Linked DNA regions of Homo sapiens: region 2 is linked to region 1. The links are contacts of gene promoters, found by promoter capture Hi-C in blood cells and fetal thymus (Javierre and others, 2016). All regions are on one chromosome and are shown on one strand. The core of a region is centred on a gene start or on the middle of the fragment in contact, and the rest is flanking DNA. Distances in the headings are between cores, read along the strand shown.

The links. Contacts are between HindIII fragments. The CHiCAGO score rates a contact against its expected background, and 5 or more counts as called.
Region 2: a contact is called between the fragment with the promoter of SRBD1 here and the fragment with the promoter of MSH6 in region 1, in 2 of 17 cell types (non-activated CD4 T cells and total CD8 T cells). The highest score is 9.9, in non-activated CD4 T cells.

The regions. Positions count from the first base shown.
Region 1 is chr2:47,781,391-47,787,211 of GRCh38, forward strand. MSH6 (mutS homolog 6) reads left to right here and starts at 1,755. Exons shown (of 10, transcript NM_000179.3): 1 at 1,755-2,103. The coding sequence starts at 1,844. RefSeq lists silencers at 1-177, 1,328-1,807, 2,088-2,247, 2,448-2,537 and an enhancer at 1,128-1,197. The HindIII fragment of the contact is 5,497 bases long and covers 1-3,412 here.
Region 2 is chr2:45,607,589-45,613,831 of GRCh38, forward strand. It overlaps SRBD1 (S1 RNA binding domain 1), which reads right to left and starts at 3,679. Exons shown (of 21, transcript NM_018079.5): 1 at 3,631-3,679. RefSeq lists an enhancer at 3,330-3,499. The HindIII fragment of the contact is 4,677 bases long and covers 386-5,062 here.

The DNA of each region.
Region 1 (5,821 bases), core at 505-3,004:
GTAGCACATATACCAAAATTGGAATGACCCCTGCACAGGGATGAAATGCAAATTCGTGAAGCATACTGTATTTTTCTTAGCACATACCACCTTTGGCAATATTCTTTTTTTTTTTTTGAGAGGGAGTCTTGCTCTGTCGCCCAGGCTGGAGTGCAGAGGCGCGATCTCGGCTCACTGCAAGCTCCGCCTCCCGGGTTCACACCATTCTCCTACCTCAGCCTCCCCAGTAGCTGGGACTACAGGCGTGTGCTACCACGCCAGGCTAATTTTTTGTATTTTTAGTAGAGGCGGGGTTTCACTGTGTTAGCCAGGATGGTCTCGATCTCCTGACCTCGTGATCCGCCCACCTCCGCCCCCCCCCCGAAGTGCCGAGTGCTGGGACTACAGGCGTGAGCCACTGCGCCCGGCCCCCGCCTTTTTTTTTTAGATTGATTTTATTACTTGCCTAGCAAAGGAGAACCTTCTGGCAGAACAGTCTCCAAGAACAAGGCAAACAACTAATTTTACATAGGTTTTTACCAATGTACAGCTGTTGATTGTGACTGGTTTCCGGCAATCTGGATTTCACAATCTGGATAAGGGGACAAACAATTGTCTGTCTTCCACTATCTTTCTTGAATTTGAATAGAACCTTTTTATTCTCATAGCCTCTTAGCTTTCTTTCTTTTTTTTTTGAGACGGAGTTTCGCTCTTGTCGCCCAGGCTGGAGTGCAGTGGCGCGACCTTGGCTCACTGCAAACGCTGCCTCCCAGGTTCAAGTTATTCTCCTGCCTCAGCCTCCCAAGTAGCTGGGATTACAGGCGCATGCCACCACGCCCGGCTAATTTTTGGATTTTTAGTAGAGACGGGGGTTTCACCATGTTGACTAGGCTGGTCTTCAACGCCTGACCTCAGGTGATCCGCCCGCCTCGGCATCCCAAAGTGCTGGGATTACAGGCGTGAGCCACTGCGCCCGGCCTCTCATAGTCTCTTAGCTTTCTAAAATTTGAAAAATCCTGTAAAGACACACCTGGGTCAAAGGGCTCAGATAACGGACTGTGGCCCTTAAGTACTTACGTCACAGGTTATTGAGAGGATCGATTTAGTTACCAGATGTAAAATGCTGGGATCAGTGCCTGGCAAAGGAAAACTTTGTACAGCTGCAGGCTTTCACCATACACAACAGCATCGCTAACGAATGCTATTACAATATTCATTTAGCGTTTACCAAGTGCCTACTCTATACAAATCTTGAGAATACAACGTGAAGGTGAACTGCTGACTAAAGTTTGGTCCCTTTCGCTCCGTCTCCTTGCGAAAATGCTCTAACGGCAGGAGGTCACGCGAGCGCTGGACGCGTTTCTCCCCGCGAGCCCCTTTCCGAGGCCTTTCGGGTCCCCCCGGTTATCCCCGCCCGGGCGGTGCGCGCCCCCGCTGTTCCCGCTTCCGCTCCAGAGAGGCAGGGCTTTCCGAGCCTGCTAGCCCCGCGGCCGCAACTAACCCCGGGTCGGAGTGTTCCGGCCCGGCCAGCCCCGCGGCGTGAGGGAAGGGGAGCTCAGCAGTTCCCCGCGCGGGGCCCAGGCGTCGGCGGCAGGGCGGGCCCCTCACCGCCAGCGTGCCAGCCCCGCCCCTACCCACCAGTGTGCCAGCCCCGCCCTTCCCCACGTCGCCGCGCGCCCGGGGGCGGGGCCTGGCGCGCACCGCCCGCGCACGGCGAGGCGCCTGTTGATTGGCCACTGGGGCCCGGGTTCCTCCGGCGGAGCGCGCCTCCCCCCAGATTTCCCGCCAGCAGGAGCCGCGCGGTAGATGCGGTGCTTTTAGGAGCTCCGTCCGACAGAACGGTTGGGCCTTGCCGGCTGTCGGTATGTCGCGACAGAGCACCCTGTACAGCTTCTTCCCCAAGTCTCCGGCGCTGAGTGATGCCAACAAGGCCTCGGCCAGGGCCTCACGCGAAGGCGGCCGTGCCGCCGCTGCCCCCGGGGCCTCTCCTTCCCCAGGCGGGGATGCGGCCTGGAGCGAGGCTGGGCCTGGGCCCAGGCCCTTGGCGCGCTCCGCGTCACCGCCCAAGGCGAAGAACCTCAACGGAGGGCTGCGGAGATCGGTAGCGCCTGCTGCCCCCACCAGGTAGCGGGGTGGGGGTGGGGTCGAAGGCGGGGGCATAGCGGCGGGGCGCTTGGAACCCGGCGAGGGGAGGCTCGCACAGGGGGTTGGGGGGGTGCACGGCCTGGCCCTGGGCTCGGAGGAGGCGGGGCCGCAGAGTTGGCTTGAATGAGTGCAGGGGTCGAGTCTGGAGCATTTGGGGGTGTAGCTTGTAAACAGGGTCGGAGGAGAGAGGCTGTGCAGGAAGAGGGCTGCAGGGGAGACGCGGAGAGTTCGGGCCTTTTGGAGGGAGGAGACGCGTCCCGCCAGGTGGGGGTGCTGGGCTAAGGAAGGGGCGACGCGCGCAGCTCCGGGTGGGGAGGGGGCCTGGGAGGTGGGAGCACTGGGGGTGGGGCGAGAAGGGGAAGGCGCCCGGCCCACTTGGTGGGCGGGGCGGGGGGCGGGGTGGCGGGAAGGAGGAATGCCTGCGGGAGGCCGAACGGGGAGAGTCCGGTGGTGTGGGGTGCGAAAGGAGGTTCCTCGGCCGGCGCGGAGATAGTGAGTTGGGGCTCCAGTAGTCGATCGAGGTAGACACTTAGAGGTAGTTAAGAGCCGCGGTCGCCGAGACGCCTTGGGGACGGTGGGCCTTCGGCCTAGGTGAGGGGCCGCCGAGGGGGTGGGCCACGAGCTGCGAGCGCGGGGGGGTGTGTCACCATGGGGACCGCGGGGCCTAATTGGGCGGGGCGGGGCCGTGGGGAGCCGAAGTGCTGGGATCCGGCTGGGTCCTTCGGTAGGTAGGCTGCACGTGCACCGAGACGAAGATAGAATATTTTGACGTATGTGGAAATTCGTGTCGAGTGGAAAATATTTTATTTTATGAAATAGTGTAATTTTTATGGGGCACCACTGGGCTTTTAGAGGCCTTAATCGGGCGCTGGACAAAGATGTGTGGACGTGAGTGACTCCGGGGAAGCCTGTCGGGAGTTGTCCTCACTTTATGGGCAGTTAAGTGCTTTTTTTTTTTTTTCCTTTTTGAGAGAGAGTTTCGCTCAAGTCCAGGCTGGAGTGCAATGGCGCGATCTCAGCTCACCGCAATCTCCGCGTCCCGGCTTCAAGCGATTCCCCAGCTTCAGCCTCCCGAGTAGTCGGGATTACAGGAATGCGCCCCCACACCCCGCCAATTTTGTATTTTTAGTAGAGACGGGGTTTCTCCATGTTGGTCAGGCTAGTCTCGGAATTCCCGACCTCAGGTGATCCACCCGCCTCGGCCTCAAAGTGCTGGGATTACAGGCGCTAGCCACCGCGCCCGGTCTGTTTAGGGCTTTTTATCCGGGCAGCTGGCGACATTTTGAAAAGCTTGCTTTTGCTGTTTGCCAGATACATATATATGTATTTTGAGACAGAGTCTTGCTCTTTTGTCCAGGCTAGAGTGCAGTGGCGCGTTCTTGGCTCACCACAACCTCTGTCTCTGGATCAAGAGATTATCCTGCCTCAGCCTCCCAAGTAGCTGGGACTACAGGTGCGCCCCACCACGCCTGGCTAATTTTTGTATTTTTAGTAGAGACGGGTTTCACTATGTTGGCCAGGCTGGTATCGAACTCCTGACCTCTTGATCGGCCCGCATTGGCCTACCAAAGTGCTGGGATTACAGGCATGAACCACCGAGCCCGGCCGTTTGTCAGATACTAAACACAAAGTTTAATGGTCGCTATTTGAACAAACGAAGAAATAAAGGCTCAGAAAAAATAACTCATTCAAGATAAGAGCCAGTTCGTGTTTTTTGTTTGGTTTTGTTTTGAAATGGAGTCTCGCTCTGTCGCCCAGGCTGGAGTGCTGTGGCGCTTTCTCGGCTCACTGCAACCTCTGCCCGCCGGGTTCAAGTGATTCTCCTGCCTCAGCTTCCCGAGTAGCTGGGATTACGGGTGTGCCCACCGCGGTCCGGCTGATTTTTCACCATGGAGTTTCACCATGTTGGCCAGGCTGGTCTTGAAACTGCTGACCTCAAGTGGTCCACCCACTTCAGCCTCCCAAAGTGCTGGGATTACAGGTGTGAGCCACCGTGCCCGGCCGCTAGTTAGTGGTTTTGAGTAATGGATTTCAAATCCATTTAAATCCAGTTTAAAGTGTCCTAAAGGAATTCTGAGATTTTTCTAAGTGTAATTATAGTGTTACCCTTGTTTAAGCGACCCTTTCCCGCAGTTTAAATATATATAGTTGTGCATTAGTAGAATATGCTTGTGGGGAACAGAGCCAGCATCCGCAATAACAAACTCCTGGTTAGAAAAGCATGACGTATTGTTTACTTGAGCATGAATTGATTGTTGAATCCAAACCAAACGGGTGTATTTATTGTAAGGATGTACTTTACATTCATATTGAATAGCGTATGTTATTTGTTTCTTGAGGTTGAGTTTAAGAGACTTGTAAAAATAAAACGTATACATTTCACCTCCCGTTATGGAGAGGATTCCAGGGTATTCAAGAAAGATGGGCATTTGATACTAGGTTTCTAAAGAAACTGCAGTGTCTAGATCACTCTGCCGAGCACAGCATTAGGCATTATGGATCCTGGATACAACCATGAACAGGACAAAGCAAAGAGGCAATTGTAGACTCCAAGTGGAAAGGGGACGGAGAGGATGCGGGTCAGGCTAGGCTCTCAGCTCTGTAAACCGAAACCAGAAGGACAAATAAGCTTAGACAGATTATAGTGAGAGTGGGAAGCTGGTTCAGGAAGAGGAAGGTCTGCAAATTGTGGGTAGGATGAAAGGAGGAGGAGGGAGCATTGGAGAAGTTAAGCAGAGATCCAATCATGAACAGTCTGATGAGCTACAGAGACATTCGGACTTACTCCATGAATCATTTAAGCCTTAAAACATGTTGAGCGTATTTTTTTTTTTTTTGAGACGGAATTTCACTCTTGTTGCCCAAGCTGGAGTGCAGTGGTGTGGTCTCAGCTCACTGCAACCTCCGCCTCCTGGGTTCCAGCGATTCTCCTGCCTCATCCTCTCAAGTACCTGGTATTACAGGTGCCTGCCACCACGCCCAGCTAATTTTTGTGTTTATAGTAGAGACGGGTTTCACCATGTTGGTCAGGCCAGTCGTGAACTCCTGACCTCAGGTGATCCACCCACCTCAGCCTCCCAAAGTGTTGGGATTACAGGCGTGAACCACCGCACCTGGCCGTGAGCCACCGTGTCTGTCCGAGCATCTTTTAATGTTTGTCATTTAGATTTCTTCTTGTGCTGAAGTGTTTGTCTTTTGCTGTTTCTTTTTTTTTTCCTAGTTCTTTGTCATTTGTGTGTGATATAAATGTCTTCTTTCACAATGAGTTCTTTCATTTAGTTTATGGCTTTGTTGTTGTTGTTGAATAATAGAGGTCTCACTTTGTTGCCCAGGCTGGTGTTGAACTCTTGCTCTCAAGCGATCCTCCCACTTCAGCCTCCCAACCTGTTGGGATTACAAGTGTGAGCCACCACACCCAGCCTTATGGCATCTTTCGATGAACAAATTATTGATTATAATGTGGAATTTGTCCTTTTATTTTCTCTGTGGTTAGTGTTTCTATAGGTTTTATTTAAGAAATCCACAGGGAGGCTGGGTGCAGTGGCTCATGCCTGTAAACCCAACACTTTGGGAGGCCAAGGCAGGCCAACATGGCTAGACCCTGTCTCTCCAAAAAATAAGAAAATTAGCCAGGCATGGTGGCGTGTGCCTGTAGTCCCAGCTTCTTGGGAGACTGAGATGGGAGGATCGCTTGAGT
Region 2 (6,243 bases), core at 2,429-4,928, 2.2 Mb before region 1:
GCATATGAGAACCAAACCAATTTACCCTGCAGTATTCTAAAAAAAAAAAATTCATATGAAGCAGTAGCTGATACCTTTGGAATTAAAGGTGAAACGGGTTAGGGCTGTGTATAAACTGACAAAGGAATATCTCTAAGTGTCCTACCTCACTTCATGCTATTAGGCAACTGCCCCAGGAAAAAGACTGTAAGTTTATTCTCTGGAGAAGGTATTAATGAAACAGTCTAGACTGTGGGCATGGGAACCATACAGACTGAATGCTAAAGGCAGAGAACCCTAGTCTTCCGCCACTAAATTCCTAAAATACTGCCCTCTAGGGAGGAGAATGGGAAGGCTTTTCTCTGGAGAATCTAACCAGTCCAAGAGTAAAAACTTGAAGGTGCTAAGCTTCCCATCAAACAACCCACCCAGATCACCTTACAATCACTCCTACCACCACATTCTACAATATGCCTGAATTCAGAACATTCCCACACAGACTACCATATACTAATTCTATCTCCACACTTCAGCCTTAACAGAAATGTGTTTAAAATAGGGACAGGCAAACCCTTGGCAGGCTTATGTTTTTGCTTAACCATTATCCTTAAAGAAGGCTCCCCTAAATCAAATATTTCCAACTGCCTCTTTATAAGGCACCCCGAAAGCAATATACCATGGAAAGATGAGTGAGTTGTAATATTTCTTTTCACAAATGTTAAAAATATCAATGTAAAAGGAAAGGTGGGAAAGCAGAATCTGCATGAACACACAAGCCAATTTCAAGCAGATCAGATTTAGAAAGAATATATACAAAAGCTGAAGACTTGGAAATTATGTCTTTAAAACTACCTACGACAGGTACACCCCCAGGAGTATGTATTCTCCAGTTTAAACACCAATATTCTTGAGGCCTGTTTCTCCATCTCCACTACTCCCATATCCTCTTACTTTGTGTCATAAAACTTGTTAGATTAACCAAAACCTCATCCATCTCCACGGTTTTACATACCGATGTCACCTACTTATTAACAATCCTAATCCCTCCATCCCAAACCGTGCCTTTAACATTCAGATTTCTATAATAAACTGCCTGTCTCTGAAACTATTTAGATGTCTCACAGTTAACTTAACACATCCACAATGGAACTCTTGATGACCATTTCTTGCTCTAAAACCTGTTCCTATTCCAGTCCTTCCCATCTCAATAAGTGGCACCCACCTATTTGCTAAGCCAGAACCTTGAAAAAAAAAATTTTTTTTTTTTTTTGAGACGGTCTCACTCTGTCACCCAGCCTGGAGTGATCTCAGCTCACTGCAAACTCTGCCTCCCAGGTTCAAGCAATTCTCCTGCCTTAGCCTCCTAAGTAACTGGGATTACAGGCGTGTACCACCACACCCAGCTAATTTTTCTATTTTTGATAGAGACGGGGTTCGTCACGTTGGCCAGGCTGGTCTCGAACTCCTGGCCTCAGGTGATCTGCCTGCCTCGGCCTCCCAAAGTGCTGGGATTACAAGTGTGAGCCATGGCGCCTGGCCAGAAAATTCTTTAACAGCTTCATTGACATATAATTGACATGCAATACACTGCACATGTTTAAAGTGTGCAAATTTGATGTTTTGACATATGTATACATATCACTACAATCAAGAAAATGAACACATTATCATCCTCCAAAGTTCCATTTGCTAAGTCAAAATGTTACAAATCTTTTTTTCTTTCATCTCACATATCCAGACTATTAGTAAGTCACATAAGATCCTCCTCCAAAATGTCTTGAATCTCCACGATCTTCAGTGAGCCTTTAGTCCTCAACCTCCCTCACTTGAACTACCACACTCGCCTCTTAACTGCCCTCCCTACTTCCACTCTTGCCCCTGCAACTCATTCTCCACTTATCAACTCAAGATCATTTAGAATATGCTTTAGAAACAACGAATTACTTCCCACCCCATCCTTCACTTAGAATCAAGCCACATTTTTATGAGGCCTTTGAAAAGGCCCTGTCGGACTGAGCCCTGCTCACCTTTCTAACCACCTTTACTACTTGCTGGAGCTCCTCAGCTCTTGTCATAACATTCTTTCCCACCTCAGGTACTCTCTGCCTGGAGTATTCTTCCCCCTGCTTGTCAATTGGCTGGCTCCTTGCATCCCTTAGATCTTAACATTTCAGGCCTAAAATAGGTTTCTCAATTATATTTTAAAAGGAGCCTATTTACTTCCTGTATACAGTAGGTTATAACACAATCTGTAATTATTTTTATTTTACTTGTTTATTGCTTGCACTGCTGTCAAGAGAGTAAATACCATGAAAGAAGGAAATGCATGTGCCTTATTCACTTCCATATCATAGAACCTAGCACTTAACAGATGCCCTACAACTATTAAATGAACATAATATGTACAAATATGGTCTCTACAGAGGAATATACATTTATTTTCCACCACTCTTAGGCAATGCCACACATTGCATTCATCTCTTTCTGAAGAAGTGATGGCACATAAGAATATTCCTATTCTTCAGTGACTTGGGATTTTTCCCTCCTTTCAAACTATCTTAATCACTGTAGGCACATGAGCATATTCCAAACCAATAATTTGGAGGTTGCTATGATGTTACTAAGGGAAGAGCCACTAAACTAGGACGACTGCAAATCAGGACAAAGGGGCAAAAGGACGTGCACACTAACAAATACTAAATTAAAATTGGAAAAAAAAATTTAAATTCAAGAAGGCAAACAAAGGAGGACAATTTCTTAAGAAGCACCTAAACAAGTTTCCATGAAGGACCAACAGAGTGCTTGAATGTTAGCAGATTCCCAAGTCACAAAAACAAAATACTAGAGCTGAAAGAACCTGAGATCAGACAGTCCCGCTATATTCAGAAATCTGAGACCCAATGAGGTGAAACAGTTTACTCAAAGGGGAAAGATATGTGGCAAAGGACTATAGCCCAGTGCCTGGAACACCAAGACTAGTCTCGTTTCCCATTCCACACACAATATGTTAATGACATGTCACGTGAGGGGTTCGAGGAAAGTTGCCTAGAGAGTTCCCAATTCATTCCTTTCCTCCGGTTACTGAGCGCCTCCTACATGCCAGGCGCACTACAGAAGGTGCAGTTGATTCAGACAGGGCCACCATGACCGTGAAAAGGGTGCTTCCTCTCCCACCTCCGATAATTTTAGGTATAAAAACAATCCAGGTAAATTAGCCGGGTGTGATGACGGGCGCCTGTAGCCCCAGCTACTCGGGAGGCTGAGGCAGGCGAATGGCGTGAATCCGGGAGGCGGAGCTTGCAGTGAGCCGAGATCGCTCCACTACACTCCAGCCTGGGCGACAGAGGGAGACTCCGTCTCAAAAAAAAAAAAAACAGGCTTGCCCAGGCTTTTCTATGTCTGTTATGCGCTAAGAGCTGCAGCAATTTGGCTGAAAAGAGGTGTCACGAGGTAGCTAGGAGGGGTTTTCGGGTGGTCGGTTGTGAGAGACCGCTGACAGTAAAATGTAATGAACTTCTCACTTTTAAAAAAGGGGTGTTATTGCCCAAATGAGCGCTCAGAACTTTTTTAATGGCCCCAAAGATCCCGGAGCCCGGACGCCGGGCTCTTGAGAACCCGCAAGACGACCGCCAAGGCGCACGCACAGCTCACCTTCCCGCCCGGCACGTCAGAAGACCCGAGATTCCGTGAGTGCCACCGCACCTTCCGGTTCCCGCCGGAAGTTTTTCAAACGCCAGAAGGTCCGCCTCGCTTCTTCCGGACCAAGTTAGCCACAGACCTCCAAGGCGCGGCGCTACCGAACGGGGCGGAGCCAGGCTGGACGGAGGCGGGGCTAGAGCGAGGATCCCGAGGGAGCGCCGGGGTGGGGCTGGTTCGTAGAAATGAAAAATGACTTTTTTTTTACGTGTTATTTACCAAGAACACTAAACTCTTAAGCCCACAGATACAGCCAAATAAATTAGATTATAAAAGTAGGGAAATAAGGCTGCTGTTGTCTACATTCGAATTTAGCAGATCAAAACCCCATGGATTTGTTTTAGAAAATTCTAAAAAGCAGCTTTCCACTGCTAATGACTTATTTCCAGGGACTCTGAGTACTGAAGAGCCTAGCAAGTTATTGAAATGACCTGTGACCGTGCCTTGTTGCAGATCTACCGGAAGTGAGCATAGATTTTACTGGATAATTTTTGTGATTGGGGGAAAAAAAAAAGGATTCTTTCTAAATTTAGTAAATCTAATCTTCTATATCTGAGATTGTTGGCCAGGAAAGATCAGTTTCCGAGATTGTTTAGGGATTTTTTTTTCCTTTTAATTAGCACAGTCGTATGTTGCCTTTAGTGATGGTTCCAGAAGGCCTAGAATTGTCTACTACAATCACAGTCTCCTTCACAATTTATGGTCCTGAAGAAATACTAGAGAACACCTTACCGTTCAGGATTGTGGGAAGAGAAACCAGATCATAGAAATCAACAACAATAATGTACTACTTACTATTCACCTACTTTTGATGTTGCATTTGCTACTCAGGTTTATGGTAAGGGGTTGTCTTGGTCAATTTTCTGCTGCTGTAACCAAATACCATAGACTGGTAGATTTATAAAGAAAGAGATTTGTTTGGCTTGTAGTTCTGAAGGCTGGGAAGTCCAAGACAGAGGGCATTATTGTTGTGTCAAAATATGATGGAGGGCATCATACTGGGGTAGGGGTGGGGGAGGCATGTGAACCCAATTGACTCCCGAAATAACTAACCCTCCTGTGATAATGGAATTAACTCATTCATGACCTAATCATTTCCTAAAGGTCCCACCTCTTCATACTATTACAATGACAAGTTTCAACTTGAATTTTTGAAGGGGACATTCCAATCATTGCAGAGGTAGTAAGGGTAAAGGTGAACTAATATACTGCAAAGTCTTTTGACATAAGTCCTGCCCTGGAGGAATTTACGACCAAGAGTAGGAACCAGATACAGCCAGAGGAAACAGACACCCAAGCAAAACAGTCTAGCTTCAAGGGTTGGGTATGCAGGTAGTAGCCACACTACAGTGAGGAGGAGAGTAAGAGTGGGCCAGCAAAGCATTGAAGCTTGACTTTCCTCTCCCCACAAGGGATTTTTGCCTTACAGCTGGGGAAGAAAAAAAAAATCACAAAAATAAATAGCCTGTTAAGATTTTAGACATCAGACATCTGGGGAAAATAAAATCTGAAGCAGGTTCTCTAAAATTAAAGTATGTAGGTAGTGGCCTACTCTAAAGGCCAATAAGGACTGTCCAGAGAATATTTCCCTTGGAATTCTATAAGAGAGTCACTCCCACTACACGCTGTCAAGGAAAATTTGTAATCACTTAAGTATAAAACAGGCCCTCCCACAAAAACTGCCTTTTCTGTCTAGGACATTGCCCAATCTATTGTTTACTTTTGGATCTCAAGTGCTGAATTCCAAGAAATTCATGGGTTTAGACTGAAAGCCTGGAATAATCCGGACACCCACCTGAGACTATGCAATAGGGTTTGGGAGTAATGAAAACATGTTTTGGATTTGATGGAGGTTGTTTTATCCCTCCAAAGTATATAGCTCTTCCCATGATATTCACTGATACATTATCATTTGTATGTTATTATCTGTTTTCAAGTCCTTCCCCTATGGGTTCTAGCTCCCCAGGGCAAATGTAATAATAATAGTAATAACTTACCTTTATTGATTACTTACCTGTGCCAGGCACTAAGTTAATGCTTTTAGATGTATTTATGTATATAATTCACATATTACCCCAATGCAATATTGCTATTAAACCATTTTTATAAATGAGAATACCAGGTATAAAGAAGTTAAATAATTCATCTAAGGTCACATCAGCTAATAAATTGTAGATCTGAGATTCAAATCCAATAATCTGCTTTACTCCAAAGCAAGTACTCTGAAAGGTATCCACATACAATTTGCTGTCTATCCACAGGGGATTGGTCTGAGGACCCCCCACAGATAGCAAAATTTACAGATACTCAACCAATCAGTGATAGAAAAAGTTGGCCCACCACATCTGCAGGTTCCATATCCATGAATGCAGATACAGATGGCCAGCTGTACCACAAACTCAAAGCAAAGACCTTTTCTCGCTCCACTATGGTGGCCAGTGAGACTCTCAATGTTTAAGGTGCTCCAGAACTGTCGAATCTCTAAATACTCTAAATAAAGTACTGTCTAACCACCTGAAACATAACAAAGCTATTCTCTCTATTGGCCTCAAACTAAGTTTCATAAGA